7 separate regions of the Homo sapiens genome follow, and all the other regions are linked to region 1. Evidence: promoter capture Hi-C in 16 types of primary human blood cells and fetal thymus (Javierre and others, 2016). All regions are on one chromosome and are shown on one strand. The core of a region is centred on a gene start or on the middle of the fragment in contact, and the rest is flanking DNA. Distances in the headings are between cores, read along the strand shown. Region 1 holds the start of PAPSS1 (3'-phosphoadenosine 5'-phosphosulfate synthase 1). Region 2 overlaps INTS12 (integrator complex subunit 12). Region 3 has its middle 3.4 kb from the start of PPA2. Region 4 has its middle 2.0 kb from the start of PLA2G12A. Region 5 holds the start of TET2 (tet methylcytosine dioxygenase 2). Region 6 holds the start of RRH (retinal pigment epithelium-derived rhodopsin homolog). Region 7 overlaps ELOVL6 (ELOVL fatty acid elongase 6).

Region 1 (2,700 bases), core at 86-2,585:
CCCGTGAAGTACATACTATTATACCCTTAAGTCAACTGAGGTTCGAAAAAGTAAAGTGACTCTCCTCAAGATCACACAGCTAGTAAATGGCAAAGCTGGGATGAGAGACCAGGCCAGGAGTCCAGCGCTCTTTCCACTGTTCTAATTCATCTTTTAAATCTCCTTCCCCTCCTTACCATCTATAGAGTTAAATAAAAGGAGAGAGGAATCAGTAAACAACTCATGATAACAATAACAACAGATGTGGTAAATTAATGACTTCCAAAGAACATTTGCCTGAAATTGCTTGTTTTTTTTTTCTTTGATTCATCTAGGGCAAGTAACGTTTTGGGAGACATTGCATTTAAACCTTATTATTCCATTGGACTGTGAAATAACGTTTCCGTCTAAACTTAAACCAGTGCCTTTCCAGACTCCAAAGATGGGCCCTTCCCTGCTGCACACTTACAAAGGAAGATAAGGCTCTTTCTCATCACAGAGAAATTAAGGAAGTAAGCAACGTTATGAGGACACAGCACTTTACAAAGTCAACTGGCAGTCATTACTAAACGTTATAAAGGACTGGTCCCATACCTGACTGTCACCAGGAATGGAGTCTTCCAAACTCCTACTTGTTAAACATTCCGATTTAACACAGAGACACAAAGAACCTCAGTTCAGGGCAGTCTCAACTCATGAATGACCACATTGTTGGGTACTCTCCTTTCACACTGAAACTCAGAAATGGAAAGACACGGAGATGGACCCAAACCTGGGCCAACCGCACTGGCAGAGCCAAGAAAAACCAAGAACGCGTCGAAGGCGCCCGCCTCCGCCTTCTCTGCACATCTTCAGGCCACTCCAAGGTATGCAGGAAGCTCCTGTTTCTGCAGCCGCAGGTTTCAGCACCCGGAGGTTTCAGCAAGCGCCAGTTCACGGGTGAAGGATTTTCCTGGGGGTCTTACCTGAGCGGAGGCGCTGGGGAGGGGGGGCGTTCTTCCCACGAACGGTGGCTCGGACCGCACGCTGCGCCAAGCTAGGGCGAGATCCCCACCCTGCGCCGCGCCCCTCTGCCTCGCAACCACCCACGGCCCCAGCCGGGAGGCGCCGCAGCCCCGGAACCCACCTCCGCGCTCCTGGAAGGATGGATGCGGAGGAGGCGGGAGAGAGGCGGCGGCTCCGGAACGAGCTGCTCCCACAGCCCCTCCGCTCCTCGCCGTCTCGCCTTCGTCCCCAGCTTACCCAGTTCTGCGCGTTATTGCTCAGTTTGACTTTCTTGCACAGGCTCCCGGGGATCTCCATGACCGCGGAGCGCGCTGAGCAGCCGGGGTTCTCTGCGCCGGGAGGGTAGCAAGAGGAGGGCAGGCCAGCGAGCGGGGCGGGGCTGGAGGGCGGGGCCTCCTCGCGTCGGAGCGGGCGCGCGCTGACTTAAGCACGCGCCCGTGCTCGTGGCCTGGGTTGCGCGGCGCATGCGGCGCGCCTCGGAAATGGGTCCGGGGCAGAGGTCTGTGGGGAAGGGCGAAACGCCGGGATAGAACCGGAGGTAGAAGCTGGGGGCGGAGCTTCAGCGCTCGCGCCGGCGCGGGCGCGCACGGCGCTCCTCCTTCCAGATCCCGATGAAGGGGCGGGGCCTGGAATGCAGTCGTGGAACCTCAGGTGCCTCTGCGGCACCGAGCCTAGCTCTGAGCTAACGCAGATCTCTAAGAGCGAGTACCAGCCGCCGGGAGAAAGGCAAGGGGAGTGCGCGGCTCGCCGCGCGCGGCACTCCCTCAGCAGAGGCTGATTGGGAGGACGCTGACGCGGCCTCTTGCACCTGTGGCTACTCCTCCACAGACCTGGCTGCCGACCTCCTGTCTGCCCCTTCTGTGCCCATGTCACCCTGGCCAAATGTTTTAAATGTTTTACAGCTTTGCAAAGGGAAGAATTGATTTACCGAACAGCTCATTCTCCACATTAAAATTCTACTCAAGACACAATTTTTTTTCTTTTTTTGAGACGGAGTCTTGCTCTGTCGCCCAGGCTGGAGTGCAGTAGTAGGATCTCGGCTCACCGCAACCTCTGCCTCCCGGGTTCAAGCGATTCTCCTGCCTCAGCCTCCCGAGTAGCTGGGACTACAGGCGTGTGCCACCACGCCCGGCTAATTTTTGTATTTTTAGTAGAGACGGGGTTTCACTATGTTGGCCAGGCTGGTCTCGAATTCCTGACCTCATGATCCGCCCGCCTCAGCTTCCCAAAGTGCTGGGATTCCAGGCGTGAGCGACAGCGCCTGGCCTCAAGACACAGTTTTTAAAAAGATATAATAAAAGCCCGATTTCTTGACATCAATAATTAATATCTCAACCTGGATTAGTGATTACTTATAAGGTGCCTCCCTCTCCGCTAGGAGACCCCACTTCGCATCAGATTTCTGTGCAGTGCTTCTTACCGACCTACACCGGAAAGGGGCTTCTGTATTATTAAGAGCTACTCAGGAAATACCTAGAGGACTGAAATCCAGGACCGGGGAGGCCGCAGGTAACCCCGAATAGAACTCCCGCCTACGGAGGACATTTTCAAATTCACCTAATTATTCCAGGGCTAGTTCGTAGGAGGATGGGCTGGGGGCATGACAGAGTTTCCTCCAGGAGTTATCTTCCCCACACCCCCCATAACTCTGAGTTCTCTTTTCCGCAGCTTGCCCCTGGCACCAAAAGAGTTGCTTGCAGCTCTGCCCCCCTGTGA
Region 2 (2,700 bases), core at 67-2,566, 2.0 Mb before region 1:
AACAGAAAACAGTAGTTGAACCTAAAATAAAACACTTATGGTTATGTGGTTTATATTTTATATTTTAGTTTTCTATCTTACCTTTACTCCCCCTTTTCTGTTGCCTTCTCTAATCTCTGTTACTTTTCCTTCCTTACCGGCAAATATCCATATAGTGAAAGAAGTTTACTTTCTACAGCAGTCATAAAGAGGTCAGCAACTTGGTGTAACTGTGTTGATCTACACATACAAAAATATTTTCCTGGAGTTACACCAAATCATGTTACTTCTATACAATTCCTTTCCTGTATATTCATTCCTAAACCCATGGCCAAAACAGACTGCAAAAGAGCCATATCATTCTTACTATGGATTAGAGTTCTAGAAAACAAAGTCCTGTGTGTGTGTATGAAAGAAAAATGTATATATGAAAGATATTTAATATATTAAATGTAGGTTTCATTTAAAAAGTAGATGTTGCTTTCAAAAAGGAGAATGTGAGAAAATTAATATTTACCACTTTAAAGCTTTCGCTGACCTAGGGAAGTGGTAGTAGTAGTATTGATAGGAGTGAATTCTTAGGTGATGCTGGGAATTAGCTGTGTCAAATGCATATAGCACAAAAATCGCCATTACTGAACAATGATCTTTTTTCTGTATCTCTTATTATCCTTGATTTATTGCAGTATGCCGTTTACTTCCTATCCAGCTCACATTCTGTGGTCCACCCTTTCAATACCTCTTTCAGTACTCTAGGCACCCGAAAGCCCTGTAGTTTCCCTACTTTATAGACATCCACCCTGCTAGCCATTCTCTCTCTGCCTGCACCCAAACTCTAAGTGCAACTGGGAGGAATATACATACATTCTATCTTCAGAATCACCATTCTCAGCTTGGCGTTCAGTACAACTTGGCAATTCTCTCATCCTTCTCTGGTCAACTCACTTCCCCACTTTCTGCAAAGATCAGTTATACTTCCTCCATTTTCTTTTAAAATTGCTTCTGTGTTTCAGTAGATGGCCTCACCTACTTCACAAAGAGAGGCTGTCAGAGAGGAATTAAGTCGACTTCCTTCCAGCACATCTACAAACTTACCTGCACTCATCCTTTCCTCTTTCCCATCTGATAAAAAAGGAGAAGGTAGCTCTCTATGTAGTGTCACCTGGATCTGGATCCTATCTCTTCTTGTCCCCTCTTGAACCTTGGCCTATGGATTATTTCCCATATCTTCTTTTTTTTTTTTTCAGCCTTTCTACTGGCATCTTTTCATTGACATTAAATATATTCAAACATCTTCTATCTTTTCTCTTTTATAGCAAAACGTTCTCAGAAATCATATGCTTTTGTACTCTTTTTCTTCATTCCTTCTATTTACACAGCAATTCTTGCAATTCAGCCTTTGTCCCACTATTCCATGAAAATGCTCTCATGAGTCATTCGCCGCCTCAGTCAGGTAAACCTAATACATACGATTGTCCCTCCTACTTCTTTGTCAGTCATCTTTGTAGGTTCCTCCTATCCAATTAAAAATGAGTTCCTCAGTGCTAGGTTCTGGGTCTCTTCTTGACTTGTTCTACATCTTCTTCCAAAAATGTGTTCTCTGAGTCAGCAGCATAGGTATCACGTCAGAACTTAGAAATACAAACTCTTGGTCTCCATTCCTAGGCCTACTGAAGAAAAAACTCTGGGAGTAGGGTCTAGAAATCTGTGTTAAGCCTTCCAGGCAATTCTATCTACTCTAAAGTTTGGGAATTATTGCCCTAGACAATTTGATCTATATAGTCTTTTGCCAGTGATTACTAATACATCTCTGCAGTCCATGTGTCTCTCCCAAGATCCAACTGCCAGCTTGACATGGATATATCATTGGTGCCTCCTATGCAACGTGTCTCCAACAGAGCCACTCATACACTATTCCCTTTTCTCCTAACCAGTTCTTCCTCTAGTAATCCCTTTTTCAAATGATATTTACCCTATTGCCCAAGCCAGTAACCCAGAAGCAGCTTTAACTCTTCCCACTTCCTTAATTCCCACCCCCAATTCAATAACCAAACCTCTTAAACATACCTCAAATCTATCCACCCTTTTCAATCCTTACTACTACCACCCTAGACCAACCTAGCATCATCTATTATCTGGCCCACTGCAAAAGCTTAATCAGTCTCCCACAATCACTCTTGTCATCCCTTTAAACCTTTTCATATCACTCACTTGCTTAAAATCCTTTTATCACTTCTCACAATCCAAAGGTTCAAGAATAAGATTCTTAACAAGGTCTCCAATTCTCTACATCAGGGGTCCCTAACCTTCAGGCCATGCAGCAGGAGGTGAGCAGTAGGCAAGCGAGGGAAGCTTCATTTGTATTTACAGCCACTCCCATCACTTGCATTACTACCTGAGCTCTGCCTCCTGTCACATCACTGGTGGAATTAGATTCTCATAGGAATGCGAATCCTATGTGAACTGTGCATGTGTGTGATCTACGTTGTGTGCTCCTCATGAGAATCTAATGCCTGATGATCTGTCACAGTATACCCCATCATCCCCAGATGAAACCGTCTAGCTGCAGGAAAGCAAGCTCAAGGTTCCCACTGATTCTACATTATGGTGAGTTGTCCAATTATTTTATTATATATTACCATGTAGTAATAAGAGAAATAAAGTGCACAATAAATGTAATGCACTTGAATCATCCTGAAACCATGTCTTCAATGAAACTGG
Region 3 (2,702 bases), core at 161-2,660, 2.2 Mb before region 1:
ATTTGAGAATCAAAATTAAAAATGCATAATATAAATGATAGGAAATAATAATAGGTATCAGGTTAGCTTTTAAAACTTTTTAAAAATACTCTGAGGGTAATGTTTATTACATAATGTTTAATTATGTACTTATTCAAATTTAGACGTTTGGAGTCTAACACGTTGGATTTCCATTATTGACATCTCCTGTTGTCATCATATAGCAAGTAAAAGTCTTAGTCCCAGGAGTTTACAAGTTGGAGAATAAAGACAAATACACATAAAATCATGAAATAACATTTCCAGAGTTTATGAAATACCAAACCACCAGAGATTCATCAACAGAGAATTGAAACTGGTGGCTCAGGAAAACTATAACTAATATGTAGGAAGGACCAGAATAGAAAATAAGAGATACGGTGTCCAGGTATTGACAGTATCTCAGGTACCAAGTGACAAGGACCCAGACAGTAGTTCTGGCAATAGAAATAGAAAGGAATGTTGAATTTGGAAGAAATGACCAAATTTGATATCTCACTGGAAGTTGTGAAATGAGGATGGAAGAGTTAAAAAAAATTATGCATAATAAATAACCAAGAGATATGTGGTGTTATTTTCAGATATATGTTAATAAAAATGAGAGAGAAATTTTGACACTAAGATGATAAACGTAGCTGGGACATGTTAAGTTTGAAACAATGCAGAGTTCCTGCTGGAGATGGAACTATTTTCACCACTGGAATTCTCTGAGAAGCAGACTCTGAGATTGAATTTAGTATGTGTGTGCAGTGTTTATTAGGCTGTACACTTGGGATCAGTATGTGAAGATGAAGGTAAGAAAGCAAAAGAGCTGAGAGAGAAGTCGAGCTGTGGTGCAAGCCCAATAGCCTCAGCCCACCTCATAGAATACCCTGGAGTTTAAAAGGCTAGTTACAGTTGTCCAATGGAGAGCACAATTTGACGGGCCTTTATAACCTCAATGATTGGATGGATATAAGCTGACCTGGGAAAGGACATGATTTGGACAAGGCAGCTATGGCCATCCCTGAAGAAGCTGACAGATAAATGCTATTTGTTACCTGTACTCCCAACAGTTCAGCAAAAGTTCATTAAGCCATGGCACATCACAGTGACTACCACAACTGTGAAACTGCAGTAAAGATAATAGTTGGAACTAGAGAAAAATTATATAATTAGTGAATTCCAGTTCTGTTTCTGTTTTTAGTATTGGTAAGCATAACACAAAATCTACCATGATTATGGTTATTGTTTTTTGCAATGCTAGATTATCCTAATAGAAAATAAAATAATTTTGAAATTGTGGAGTACTCATTTATGTGTTTACTTTTATAAAAGCAGTAAATGTCCCTAAAACGAATTATTATTATTACCTACAACATGATAAATAAGCAAATTAAGAAATTTGCTAATTGCTCATCTTTGCTCACAATAGCTAGCTTGTGGGGGGAAAGAAATAGAGCAGTATGCAATAGAAGTAATGAGAATTTTAAAACAATTTTGAATATTTTCTAATTAATCAGTTCAGAGACACACAGACTGATATTTCACTAGCCTTTGGAAGACTTTAACCACAAGGGAGACTTTAAAAATAATTTTCACATTACCAAACATTTAAAATATTTGTCAAATTACAAGATTTCCACAATATTTCAGAATGTTACCTAAAGTTCATGTTCATCCGATATTCATCAACCACATTTTTTTCTAATAAATACATGTCACAGTTCTATACCATTTCTCATTTAAATACTGGCAATTATCTATTGATAAAATTATTTTCACAATTCAATGAAACTATAAGAGCTTGACTAACTTTAGGCCTTAAAATGTGTATAGGTGTGTATGTGTGTGTGTATTTTTATTGCTGTAGTTAATTTATTTTTCTTACTAAAACAATGATGCTTCAAGATGAGAAAACATGTCATAGACTGAAAGAAAATATTTGCAAAATATGTGTCTGATAAAGGACTATTATCAAAATATACAAAGAACTGTTGAAACTCAAGAAAAAGAAAACTAACCAATTTAAAAAATAGGCGAAAAGCCATCAGCAGTGGACTGGACAAACAAAATGTAGTACAGCTACACCATGGAATACTGTGCAGCCATAAAAAGAAGGAAATCATGTCCTTTGCAGCAACACAGATGGAAACCATTATCCTAAATCAATTAATGCAGGAACAATAACAACAACAAAAACAAATACTGCATGTCCTCATAAGTGAGAGCTAAACATTGAGTACACATGGACATAAAGAAGGGAATAACAGACATCAGCGCCTCTTTGAGAGTGGAGAGTGGATGGGAAGGTGAAACCCATAAACTACCTATCAGGCACTATTTCCTGGGTGATGAAATAATCTGTACACAAATCCCCATCTCACACACACACACACACACACACACACACACACACAGTTTTAATTTGTGACTGCCAAAATTTGGTGCAACCAGGATGTCCTTCATTAGGTGAATGGATAAACTATGGTACATTCAGACAATGAAATATTATTCAGCACTAAAAAGAAGTGAGCTATTAAGCCATGAAAAGACATGAATAAACCTTAAATTTATATTACTAAGTGAAGAAAACAAATCTAAAAGGCTACATACTGTATGATTCCAGCTGTATGACATTCTGGAAAAGGTTTAAGTGTGGAGACTGTAGAAGCCTCAGTGGTTTCCAGGGGTTAGAGAAGAGT
Region 4 (2,700 bases), core at 187-2,686, 2.0 Mb after region 1:
GCCTTGGCGGTGCCTGACTCTAATCAGGACGAGCTAAATGCTAGTTTAGACTTTCCGGAAAAAGAAAATGGGCCAACATAAAAATCATAAAATTCTCCCCTGGTAAGGAAGAAACAGTAGTGTAAACTTAAATACAGTAAAAAGTAAAATAAATCTTAAGGAAGTCATTGTTTTTCTACTCAAGGGATTTTGTAACTTGATAGTTACAGTGACGTTTGTTTCTCTGTACCTACCACCCTGCCCCCAGCATTGTGCGGGATCCATAAATAACTATTGCAGTAGTACTTTGTATCAGTTGTAAATATCTGGTTATCTTAGTATCACAGCAGTTTCCAAGAATTTTACAGTAAGATCCAGAGCAATGTTGAAAGTATTGGGCAGACCAAGCGCGGTGGTTTACGCCTGTAATCCCAGCACCTTGGGAGGCCTGGAACTCCTGAGGTCAGAAGTTCGAGACCAGCCTGGCTGACATGGTGAAACCCCATCTCTACCAAAAATACAGAAAATTAGCTGGGCGTGGTGGCGGGCACCTGTAATCCCAGCTACTCGGGAGGCGGAGGCAGGAGAATCACTTGAACCCAGGAGGTGGATGGATGTTGCAGTGAGCTGAGATTGCACCACTGCACTCCAGCTTGGGGCACAGAGCGAGACTCTAAAAAAAAAAGAAAGTGAGTAAGTATTGGGCATAGGTGTGTCCTTTCTATAAGAATTACCAATAAGTTCTAGGTTTGGCCTTTTGTGTTTGTTACAAACTAAATGAGCTTATAATAAACGTTCAGTGCACAGTTCATAAAAATTACATCCCTCTTTATTGAGTGCTTACTATGTGCCAGGCACTTCATGAATATGATCGCTCACATTCAGAACACTACTTTACAAGGATGCAGACTTTGGGCAAGTTAGAAACATAGAAAGGCATTCCTCCCTACAAACAGGGTAGCCCAACAAACGGTGTAGCTCCTGGCTGGAGACTGCCTGCACTTCACTCAGCCCCTCAACCAGGAGTCTTGGGCAGTGATTAATTCCTACCACAATGGAGAAGGGGGAAGAATGTTCCCTGGAAGGTATTATTATCTTCCTCTTTTACAATAAAAGAGTCGAGGTGAGAAGTCATGTGACAGTATCTACTCCAAACCAAGGCCTCTGTCTTCACAAAATACCACAGATATTTTTATTTTTTAATTTTTAGACAACACATTTCAATACATTTTAAAAAGGGAACTTAGAATCATTGTCTTAGCTTTCTGGAACATTGGTTTCTCAGCTCCAAAGTATGAAAGTTGGACTAGATTACCTCTGAGATACCACCACCTGAATCCTTAAACCAGGCTTGGTTCTTACAACTCCCTAGTCCAGGGACAAGACTTTCAAAAGAAAGGATAGAATGTAATAAAATAACCTAGTTCCAGCCCTCAGTTATGACCCAAAGCCTCTCCTTTCCCCCACTTTCTCTATTTATTTACTTCTTTGTGATCTCATCTAATTTCTTACACCTTAACTACAGCCTATACTCTGAGGAATCAGACGTAGTTTTCTTTGTCTGATCTCTCCTTAGGGATTAAATTCTCAAATGCCAGTTCTTCTGGCTTGATGCAGCTGTTCTCTTTCTCTCAAGCAAATCTTTCCACTGTCTTCCCCATGAGAATCACCACCATTTTTGTAGAAAACAAGACTCTAAGTTTTATTTTCACATTCTTTTCACATTTAATCATTATATATTTGTTGTTCTGCTGCAGTAATTACAAGGTTTACGTTTTCCTCTTAATTGATGCTGTTAAATACCAGGGATCTGCACTGACCACAGACTATCTGTATAATTTGTAGGGCTCAGTGCAAAATAAAAATACAGAGCCCCTTGCTCAAAAATTAAGAATTTCAAGGTGATGGCCGGGTGCGGTGGCTCACGCCTGTAATCCCAGCACTTTGGGAGGCTGAGATGGGCAGATCACGAGGTCAGGAGATCGAGACCATCCTGGCTAACACGGTGAAACCCTGTCTCTACTAAAAATACAAAAAGTTAGCTGGGCATGGTGGCGGGCACCTGTAGTCCCAGCTACTCGGGAGGCTGAGGCAGGTGAATGGCGTGAACCCGGGAGGCAGAGCTTGCAATGAGCCAAGATCGTGCCACTGCACTCCAGCCGAGGCCACAGAGCAAGACTCTGTCTCAAAAAAAAAAAAAAAAGAATTTCAAGGTGATAACAGCAGAGCATTAAAATAAGTACAGAGCCCTTTTGACTGTGGGGCCTTGTGCCACTACACAGGATGCATGCTCTGATTTACCATATCATATAAATTTTTTTTTTTTGAGTCTGGCTCTGTTGCCCAGGCTGGAGTACAGTGGCACAATCTCAGCTCACTGCAACCTCCGCCTCCCAGGTTCAAGCTATTTTCCTGCCTCAGCCTCCCGAGTAGCTGGGATTACAGGTGCCCGCCACCACACCTGACTAATTTTTTGTATTTTTAGTAGCAATGGGGTTTCACCAAGTTGGCCAGGCTGGTCTCGAACTCCTGACCTCAAGTCATTCCCCTGCCTTGGCCTCCCAAAGTGCTGGGATTACAACATGAGCCACTGTGCCCAGCTCATCTCACGTAACTTCTAGATGACCCACTTCCATCTTTTCTTCCCAAATTTTGGCATAAACTGTTTGAAAAGAGCCTTCTTTACAGGACACTTTCATCTAACCAGCAAAACCTGTTATT
Region 5 (2,700 bases), core at 36-2,535, 2.6 Mb before region 1:
CAATAGAGAAAAACTCCGGTCAAAGGAAGAGCATAGTTACAGAGCTCCGAATGTCAGGGAAAATCAAGCATCCGTCATTCGGAATTAGCTCTGTATCGGTCGGTTTCTTCATTACTTAATTGTACGGGGGGAAACTACTTCAAAGTAAGGGCTCTTACGAGAGGCAACTTAAGCATTTGAAAGTGCAGGTTTATTTCCTCCTAGCGAGAAGTAGGGGGTCACTAGTGAGAAACCTATTTCAATCTGTGAGACGCCCCCTTCTACTCAGCCCACGTGGCTAAAGTAAACAGAAGGTGGGCCGGGGCGGGGAGAAACAGAACTCGGTCAATTTCCCAGTTTGTCGGGTCTTTAAAAATACAGGCCCCTAAAGCACTAAGGGCATGCCCTCGGTGAAACAGGGGAGCGCTTCTGCTGAATGAGATTAAAGCGACAGAAAAGGGAAAGGAGAGCGCGGGCAACGGGATCTAAAGGGAGATAGAGACGCGGGCCTCTGAGGGTAAGGTGGGCGCAAGCGGAGGTGTGGTGCGGGGAGAGGTGCCAGTGGGTGGAGGCGGGGGCCAGAGCGAGGGCACGTGCGGGTACACTCCGGAGGAGGTGGGTGCGCGCGGGGGCGTGTGCGCGGGACCTCGAAGTGGTGGTGGAGTGCAGACCAGCAAAAAGTTTCAAAGGGAAATCTTAGATGTCACGTCTTTGTCCAGGCACCCGTGCCATCCCAACCTCCCACCTCGCCCCCAACCTTCGCGCTTGCTCTGCTTCTTCTCCCAGGGGTGGAGACCCGCCGAGGTCCCCGGGGTTCCCGAGGGCTGCACCCTTCCCCGCGCTCGCCAGCCCTGGCCCCTACTCCGCGCTGGTCCGGGCGCACCACTCCCCCCGCGCCACTGCACGGCGTGAGGGCAGCCCAGGTCTCCACTGCGCGCCCCGCTGTACGGCCCCAGGTGCCGCCGGCCTTTGTGCTGGACGCCCGGTGCGGGGGGCTAATTCCCTGGGAGCCGGGGCTGAGGGCCCCAGGGCGGCGGCGCAGGCCGGGGCGGAGCGGGAGGAGGCCGGGGCGGAGCAGGAGGAGGCCCGGGCGGAGGAGGAGAGCCGGCGGTAGCGGCAGTGGCAGCGGCGAGAGCTTGGGCGGCCGCCGCCGCCTCCTCGCGAGCGCCGCGCGCCCGGGTCCCGCTCGCATGCAAGTCACGTCCGCCCCCTCGGCGCGGCCGCCCCGAGACGCCGGCCCCGCTGAGTGATGAGAACAGACGTCAAACTGCCTTATGAATATTGATGCGGAGGCTAGGCTGCTTTCGTAGAGAAGCAGAAGGAAGCAAGATGGCTGCCCTTTAGGATTTGTTAGAAAGGAGACCCGACTGCAACTGCTGGATTGCTGCAAGGCTGAGGGACGAGAACGAGGTCAGAGCGCTTCTCTTATGCCGCGAAACTCTCCCTTTCTTCTCCCCTTCGCTTTTTCTCGGGCTTCCAGGGACTGGGGAGCAAACCCTGTAGTGTCACCCACAAATACCAAGAGGGAAGAGGGAAGCTTCACAAATTACTGGAGCCTCTTCAACATGGCTGACAAATATAGTTTTAATTCCCTCTACCCCTTTTAAACCTGTAGTTCTGTGTTCTCTTCTCTCCTCCTAATGCTCGTCCCCTCATCTCCCAGAAAACTTACCTTTGTGCCTCCGACGAGCCGGTTTCCCGGCCTTTTTTAATCCTCAGAAAAGTGATTTTTAAATTTGCTTTCCTTTCTAAAATAGTTCAGCTTTGGGGGCACTACTTTTCCCTTTAATCCTCTTCCCCTGTTTCTTTCGTGTAAGTGAAACGAGTCTCCCGTTTATCCTGAACAACCTCAGAGAGAACACTGATAGGGTGTTTTTCGACCCTTTTATCAGCTGTAGGGTCTGGGTCTGGGTTTGTGTCTGCCTCCTCCTACCTTCTTATCCCCCTTTAGGGGGCTGTACGAAGTGAATGTCACAGGGAGTGGAATTGGAGTACACTGAGTGGGTTTTTTTTTTCCTTAAGTCCGCGCGTTTTGTTAGCGGCGCTGAGTGAAAGAGGAAAGAATAGTTTCTCTGGTTCCCCAAACAAGACCAGAACTCACTTTTCTCAAGGTACATAAGTCAGCGCTGGGCTGAGCCTTCCAGCCTGGGGAATGTATGTAAGAGAATTTATGGACAAATCTGTGTCCCGGCTTTGTGCTTCTCCCGAATCAGCTTCGTTTGGTTCCTTGGTAAGTGACAGGCAGACACAAAGGCAGGCGCAGGCCCGGGGAGGGGGCGGGAGGGGGTGGGGAGCGCAGCGTTGGAGTTGCAAGACTGCAAGGTCAGGGGCGCCTAAAGAAATGAAACCCAATCCCAGCAAAGAAGTGAAGAGCAGATTTATAACAGTCCCATCCAAATTTCTCTTTGGCTTCTCTCTTTGGTCTTTCATCTCTCTGCCTTTCTCTCTGTGTCTCCTCTCTACTCTTTCTTCTCTCTCTCTCATACACATACACACACACACACACACACACACCTCACTCGCATCTTGCTGAATCTTTTCACTGGGACTGCTTGTCTAGTTTTATTAAGCTAATAGGGTTTGTATGGAGAGTTTTCTACCTATGACATAATGAAGTGTGGCCTGGATAGACTCCTGGAAAGGCCGAAAATGAAATATAAGTGTTATTTGCTGGTTATTCCCCTCATGATATACTTTTAATTACATTGAGGGAGTTCTCCC
Region 6 (2,728 bases), core at 27-2,526, 2.1 Mb after region 1:
AATTACAGTTTTTACAGGAATAGGCAGTTATGCTTTTACAGCTTAGGACAGGAGATTATTTGATTTGGAATTGTGGTGATGAAATTTTCATGGAGTGTTAGGGCCAGGGCTTTTGCTCGTGGTTTGGAAAAGATGTTAGTAAGCACCAAAGGGTGATGGCATTGTCCCAAGGACAAATAATAATAGCGCAACATTTCTACAGTTTGTTTTTTTAACATTAAAAATAAATCTAAAATGGCAATAATGGAAATAACATATAGATCAGTAGACAAACCAGTTGGAAATTTTACCGTTTAGCTTATGTATATCTTTTTTTCATTGTCCATCTTTAAGCTTTTATTTCCACATCTTTTCCTTTTTTTTCCTTATAGTTTCTGGGTTTATTTATTTGTTTATTTATTATTATTATTTTTTGAGACGGAGTTTTGTTCTTGTTGCCCAGGCTGGAGTGCAATGGTGCAATGTCGGCTCACTGCAACCTCTACCTCCCGGGTTCAAGCGATTCTCCTGCCTCAGCCTCCCAAGTAGCTGGGATTACAGGCATGCGCCACCATGCCCGGCTAATTTTGTATTTTTAGTAGAGATGGGGTTTCTCCATGTTGGTCAGGCTGGTCTCGAATTCCTGACCTCAGGTGATCCGCCTGCTTTGGCCTCCCAAAGTGCTGGGATTACAGGTGTGAGCCACTGCGCCTGGCCTAGTTTCTGGGTTTTTTTGAGGCATTTCATTTTGAATCAAATTCACATGTATTTCTAAGCCTTATCCCAATATAGCTTTTCTGTATCACCCATGAAGGAAGCATAAAAAAGAACTTCAAATGCACCTACCTCACTCATATCAAAACTTTCATCTGCAGCAGAAAGCTGACTATCTGAAATTATATATTTTTCAGTTCTTAGAAATAATTATTTCTGGAAAATTTTTCATGGATGCTACAACTAGGTATAACTTATTACAGAAAAGGAAGGTAGTATGACCCAAAGCAAATTCAAAAATTTTAAGTTTTGTTTTGCATATTGAATGAAAGAAAAGACAAAGACTTTTTAAAGGGAGTGATTTCCTCTTGGGTATTATGTTTTTTGCTCTAGGGTCATTTGAAAACAATACTGACGAGATTCGCTTTTCTAGTATAGGTATAACAATATTACATTTATAAAAATGTGAGTACTGGTAGCTATAAGATTTGGGACAGATAAATCAACCTGTTCATCTTGAGTTTATACACAGGCAAGAGAACTGAAGCAAAAGGATTATCTTAGGTTTCTGCTGTGCCATTCTAGGATTTTTATAAAATTAAACTAAGTGGGTAAATATAGCCCTCTAGTGGTTCTGTTTTATGCTTACACTGTTAACTTTGGTGCATCTAAGCATTTCTCTAATGTTTACTGATTTTAGGAAACTGAGGAGAATCAGATTTTAATAATGTTAATGGCATAAAGAATATGGGAAAAAAGGTAATAGGGATACCTTATTATTCTAACAAAACATGCTCAGGTTGGTTTTCAGGTTGTAATGTGATAATCCAGAATATTTTTATTCTGTACTTTACAATATCAGTGATTGAATTCAGATACTCTGGCAAAGTATACAATGATTACTATCATCAGATAATATTAATTACTCATGTGCATATCAAACTATAGGGGAAATTAACGGATGGTGGAGTTGATCATATTATATCCATGCTATGAAATACATAGCTACTAATAAATTAGACTTTATTAGATTCTGGGTTTATTAACTTGGATATTATAATACAGCCTTATGGGAAAACAAGTTGCATTATATATATACATTTGTACTTATTTTTTTCCCTCATTTTTATTTACAAGAAGAAAGTGGAGGAAACCTGAAACACTTGTATGAATATGTGTATAAGCAGAGAAAAGCCTAAGAAAGGATATGCACCAAACAATACTGGTACCTTTAGGAGAGTGAGATTTGGAAGTAGGAAGGAGACTACTTCTTTGTCACTAATATTTAAATTGTTAAGAAAAAAAAAACAACAAAAGGAGCCGAAATGGAAAGACTTGAATGGTCAACAGAAAACAGGGACCTTAATCCGAATAGTTTTAGAGGACTAAGGCTGGCTCCTATACTGATTTCCTGAGTTTGTTTATTGTTAAATGGGATGTGTGTGCTTGATAATCTCCTTAGATAGAAGACTGATGCCCAAATAGGTTAAAATGTGTGGTGCTTGGTATTTCTTTTTGTTTTGCTAATAAGCTTTTCCCTTATTCTGGGAATTAAAGTCCTTTCCTCTTTAGCCCAATTAAATTTGTTAAGGGAGGGCCTCTATGAAAAGGCCCTTCTTTGAGGTCTCTAAGTGGAAATGATTGGTCCTAAAAAATCTTTCCTCAGTAGCTCATAAAGCAGTTCATAATTATCGAAGGCTTATTATGAAGGGTGTTTCGGTATCTTCCCTCCAAAATGCTAAGAAATAATTTAGGCAACAGTTCAGACTCTAAAAATGAAGATGGCTCGGTCTTTTCACAGACTGAACACAATATTGTTGCAACTTACTTGATTATGGCAGGTATGGATATTTAAGTAAGTTATTTTTCTTTAGAATGGGTGAAGAAAGGCAGAAGTTTTCAGCATAAGGCATGCATTGTTTCAAGTTCCATATTATTGGCCAACCTTGACAAGTCATTTATCCTGACTTGGCTTGCTCGTTGGTAAATGAGGATGATGATACTCTATTTCTGGGCTGTAAAGATCAAATAAGAT
Region 7 (2,700 bases), core at 37-2,536, 2.5 Mb after region 1:
AATGAAAAACAACAGCCAAATACTATGTCTGCATTTGAACAGTTTCATTAACATTATGCTGCTATATTTTTTATGCTGCTATATTTGAGTTAAATGCTAACACAGGTTTTTAGTGCTTTTTATGTTCTTTAATCATGAAATTGTACATCGTGTTACTTTCCAAACTTCACCTACAAAAAAGATATAGATGTACAACTCCTTTTAAAATGTTTCACGGCCGGTTGCAGTGGCTCAAGCCTGTTATCTCAGCACTTTCGGAGGCCGAGGTGGGCGGATTACTTGAGGTCAGGAGTTCAAGACCAACCTGACCAACACGGTGAATTCCCATCTCTACTAAAAATACAAAAATTAGCTTGGTGTCATGGCAGGCACCTGTAATCCCAGCTGCTTGGGAGGTTGAGACATAAGAATCACTGGAACCCGGAGGCAGAGGTTGCAGTGAGCCAAGATTGTGCCACTGCACTCCAGCCTGGGCAACAGAGTGAGACCCTGTCTCAAAAATAAAACAAAATAAAATAAAATGTTTCACTCCATTTTTACCTTTGGTAAAAACAAATTTGTGAATAAAAAGGCTTCCTCAGCTGAACAGCATTTAATTCTTAAAATTCCTATACTATCTTATAGACTCTATAATACAGAATACAAAATGTTAAAACAAGTAAACCCTTTTACACCACCAAGGGAGTGAGTGGGGAGAAAAGTCAGAAAAATATATAAAGCTTTGAAAGGCTGGATGTGTGGAGAATGCCAGGAGAGGGGGAGGGTTTCATGAAGTTCTAGGCAAGCCCTTTGAAGACGTCACCTCACATACATAATGTTACAGCAGTCAGCACAGGCCTCCTGCTTTCCTATTGGTGGGCACCGTGTCAGCCGACATCAGAAGATAATCATCATTGGCTAGACAATTACAACTGGAGCAACTAGCATCCACTGCTGTTAGCACAAACCTGGCAGGCTGCTGAAAGAGAAGGCAGAGAGAGCCCAGCTTCCCTTCTCACTCAATGAATTATATGTCGCCTTAGCAATCACCAGGTGATTTTGCTCCCTGGCTAGCAGCACTTCCAACTTAAGTCAGCTCTTAGTGAGAAAAACAGGTAAAGGCCAGACATCTCATAAAAGAGCAAAATGTCTCTATTTTCAATGTTGTAAAATTGCAAGGACTTTTCAGTGAAAATTAGAATTCAAAACTCCTATTTGGACCTATGAGCAGACATTTTTCTCTACCTCATGTAATAAACTCTCATTGACCAGATAATATAACCAGACAGGATATTTTTCACTGGACATGTAGTTTCAAGATGAGGCCCAGGATGATTCTACAAGGGAATACACTTATTACTTTGCATTTCAATTGCTATTCTAACCTATTATATATGAAACTTTTTGCTAGCAAAGTAAAAAAAGTCTGCAGTATTTACTTTCATGGCTAGGCCAATGAGTATGAGGTTAATGATTCATTAAAGCAGCAATAAACTTGAAAACTAGCCTCAGTTGAACCCTTTAGGGTTTATACAAATGCTACTCCAAAAGTCGGGCCCCATTCCATTAACACGTGCTATGGTTAGTAAGTATGGATTATAGGGTATGTTAACATTAATTTGCGCTATGGTTAGTAAGTATGGATTATAGCGTATGTTTAATAAAGTATTCTTATTTTAGGTCCTCTTAAATGATGCTAGTTAGCAAAGGCAGCATACTGGCAAAATACTACTCCTGGCCATTCTCACAGTTCTTCAAAAGCCAATGTAGTTCACTTTTGAGAGAGGATGTTTTAATTCTCTAAATTAACAAGTTTTGCCTGTTACTAAGAAGAGATTTATAAGGACAACCATAAATTCCCAAAAGACAGAGTAGAAGCTTCACTATATCATGTTTTTCCTCCAGAAGCTATTTCAAACCATTTTAAGTTAATGAGTCTGAAAAAGGTAAGATTTTATGGTTTCCTCAAGTTCCTCTCTCCTCAAGAGGGTCTAAGCCTTGGTTATGGAGTTCCCTTCTCCTATTAAAAAGGGAGTGAAAAGAAAATCTGGTTCAAGACTTTTTGTCCTGCATTAGCTGGATTCTATTAAAAATAAAAACTAAAAGCTTTAATTTGAACCTCCCGGGTTCAAGCAATTCTCCTGCCTCAACCTCCCGAGTAGCTGGGATTACAGGCACCCGCCACCACGCTCGGCTAATTTTTTTGTATTTTTAGTAGAGATGGGGTTTCACCATATTGGCCTGGCTGGTCTCGAACTCCTGTCGTCAGGTAATCCACCCACCTCAGCCTCCCAAAGTGCTGGGATTACAGGCAGGAGCCACCACACCCGGCTAATAAAATTAAATTTTAAAAAGTGTTTAAAGTCTTTTTGGCTGTACAGTTTTTGGGGAGGGAGGAGAGATAAAATTGGGCACCCTGGGATATTGGGAGAAATGCACAAAATCTGGCATTTAAAAAAAAACATGAAAGTAAGACAATTAGGGTCAGGAAGAGTTGCAAGGGAGGGGTAACAGCCAGCAGGGTTCTTTGACTGCAATAAGCAATCTAAGAACATAACATCAACAGAGAGCAGAAGCCAGGAAGGGAAAAATCCCAAGATGTGACTCTGCCACGGTATGCAAGTTCTAGCCTGTTAACCTTCGGGTATTAACGAGTAGTGCTGGCAATAAAATGGGCACCAATCACCATTTCAACTCACTGGACATTTTCTCAAGAATGTG

The links. Contacts are between HindIII fragments. The CHiCAGO score rates a contact against its expected background, and 5 or more counts as called.
Region 2: a fragment that was not itself captured here is called in contact with the fragment with the promoter of PAPSS1 in region 1 in 2 of 17 cell types (total B cells and naive CD8 T cells); the score reaches 7.0 in total B cells.
Region 3: a contact is called between a fragment that was not itself captured here and the fragment with the promoter of PAPSS1 in region 1, in 1 of 17 cell types (total B cells). The highest score is 5.9, in total B cells.
Region 4: a fragment that was not itself captured here is called in contact with the fragment with the promoter of PAPSS1 in region 1 in 8 of 17 cell types (non-activated CD4 T cells, naive CD8 T cells, activated CD4 T cells and 5 more); the score reaches 16.2 in non-activated CD4 T cells.
Region 5: the fragment with the promoter of TET2 here is called in contact with the fragment with the promoter of PAPSS1 in region 1 in 3 of 17 cell types (total CD4 T cells, naive CD4 T cells and total CD8 T cells); the score reaches 6.1 in total CD4 T cells.
Region 6: a contact is called between a fragment that was not itself captured here and the fragment with the promoter of PAPSS1 in region 1, in 2 of 17 cell types (non-activated CD4 T cells and naive CD8 T cells). The highest score is 6.9, in non-activated CD4 T cells.
Region 7: a fragment that was not itself captured here is called in contact with the fragment with the promoter of PAPSS1 in region 1 in 6 of 17 cell types (naive CD4 T cells, naive CD8 T cells, non-activated CD4 T cells and 3 more); the score reaches 7.2 in naive CD4 T cells.

What each region holds. Positions count from the first base shown.
Region 1 is chr4:107,718,899-107,721,598 of GRCh38, forward strand. It overlaps PAPSS1 (3'-phosphoadenosine 5'-phosphosulfate synthase 1), which reads right to left and starts at 1,336. Exons shown (of 12, transcript NM_005443.5): 1 at 1,222-1,336. The coding sequence starts at 1,281. RefSeq lists enhancers at 589-648, 2,639-2,700 and a silencer at 1,279-1,528. The HindIII fragment of the contact is 5,198 bases long and covers 1-2,700 here.
Region 2 is chr4:105,702,805-105,705,504 of GRCh38, forward strand. INTS12 (integrator complex subunit 12) reads right to left here. Exons shown (of 8, transcript NM_020395.4): 2 at 844-1,005. It overlaps LOC124900748 (a long non-coding RNA gene), which reads left to right. Exons shown (of 3, transcript XR_007058215.1): 2 at 2,510-2,586. Among named protein-coding and RNA genes, the nearest start is that of INTS12, 4.5 kb to the right of the region's middle. The HindIII fragment of the contact is 1,625 bases long and covers 505-2,129 here.
Region 3 is chr4:105,476,122-105,478,823 of GRCh38, forward strand. No RefSeq gene overlaps it. Among named protein-coding and RNA genes, the nearest start is that of PPA2, 3.4 kb to the left of the region's middle. The HindIII fragment of the contact is 4,302 bases long and covers 1-2,702 here.
Region 4 is chr4:109,730,691-109,733,390 of GRCh38, forward strand. It overlaps a transcript of CFI not described here. Among named protein-coding and RNA genes, the nearest start is that of PLA2G12A, 2.0 kb to the left of the region's middle. RefSeq lists an enhancer at 1-374. The HindIII fragment of the contact is 3,342 bases long and covers 1-2,700 here.
Region 5 is chr4:105,145,591-105,148,290 of GRCh38, forward strand. It overlaps TET2 (tet methylcytosine dioxygenase 2), which reads left to right and starts at 1,286. Exons shown (of 11, transcript NM_001127208.3): 1 at 1,286-1,389. LOC124900868 reads right to left here. Exons shown (of 3, transcript XM_047416559.1): 2 at 1-1,371. The coding sequence ends at 683. RefSeq lists silencers at 548-1,227, 2,191-2,260 and enhancers at 1,298-1,467, 1,811-1,860. The HindIII fragment of the contact is 4,110 bases long and covers 1-1,514 here.
Region 6 is chr4:109,825,600-109,828,327 of GRCh38, forward strand. It overlaps RRH (retinal pigment epithelium-derived rhodopsin homolog), which reads left to right and starts at 2,373. Exons shown (of 7, transcript NM_006583.5): 1 at 2,373-2,534. The coding sequence starts at 2,429. The HindIII fragment of the contact is 1,891 bases long and covers 332-2,222 here.
Region 7 is chr4:110,193,108-110,195,807 of GRCh38, forward strand. The region is part of intron 1 of ELOVL6 (ELOVL fatty acid elongase 6); the gene reads right to left. Among named protein-coding and RNA genes, the nearest start is that of ELOVL6, 4.2 kb to the right of the region's middle. The HindIII fragment of the contact is 1,138 bases long and covers 718-1,855 here.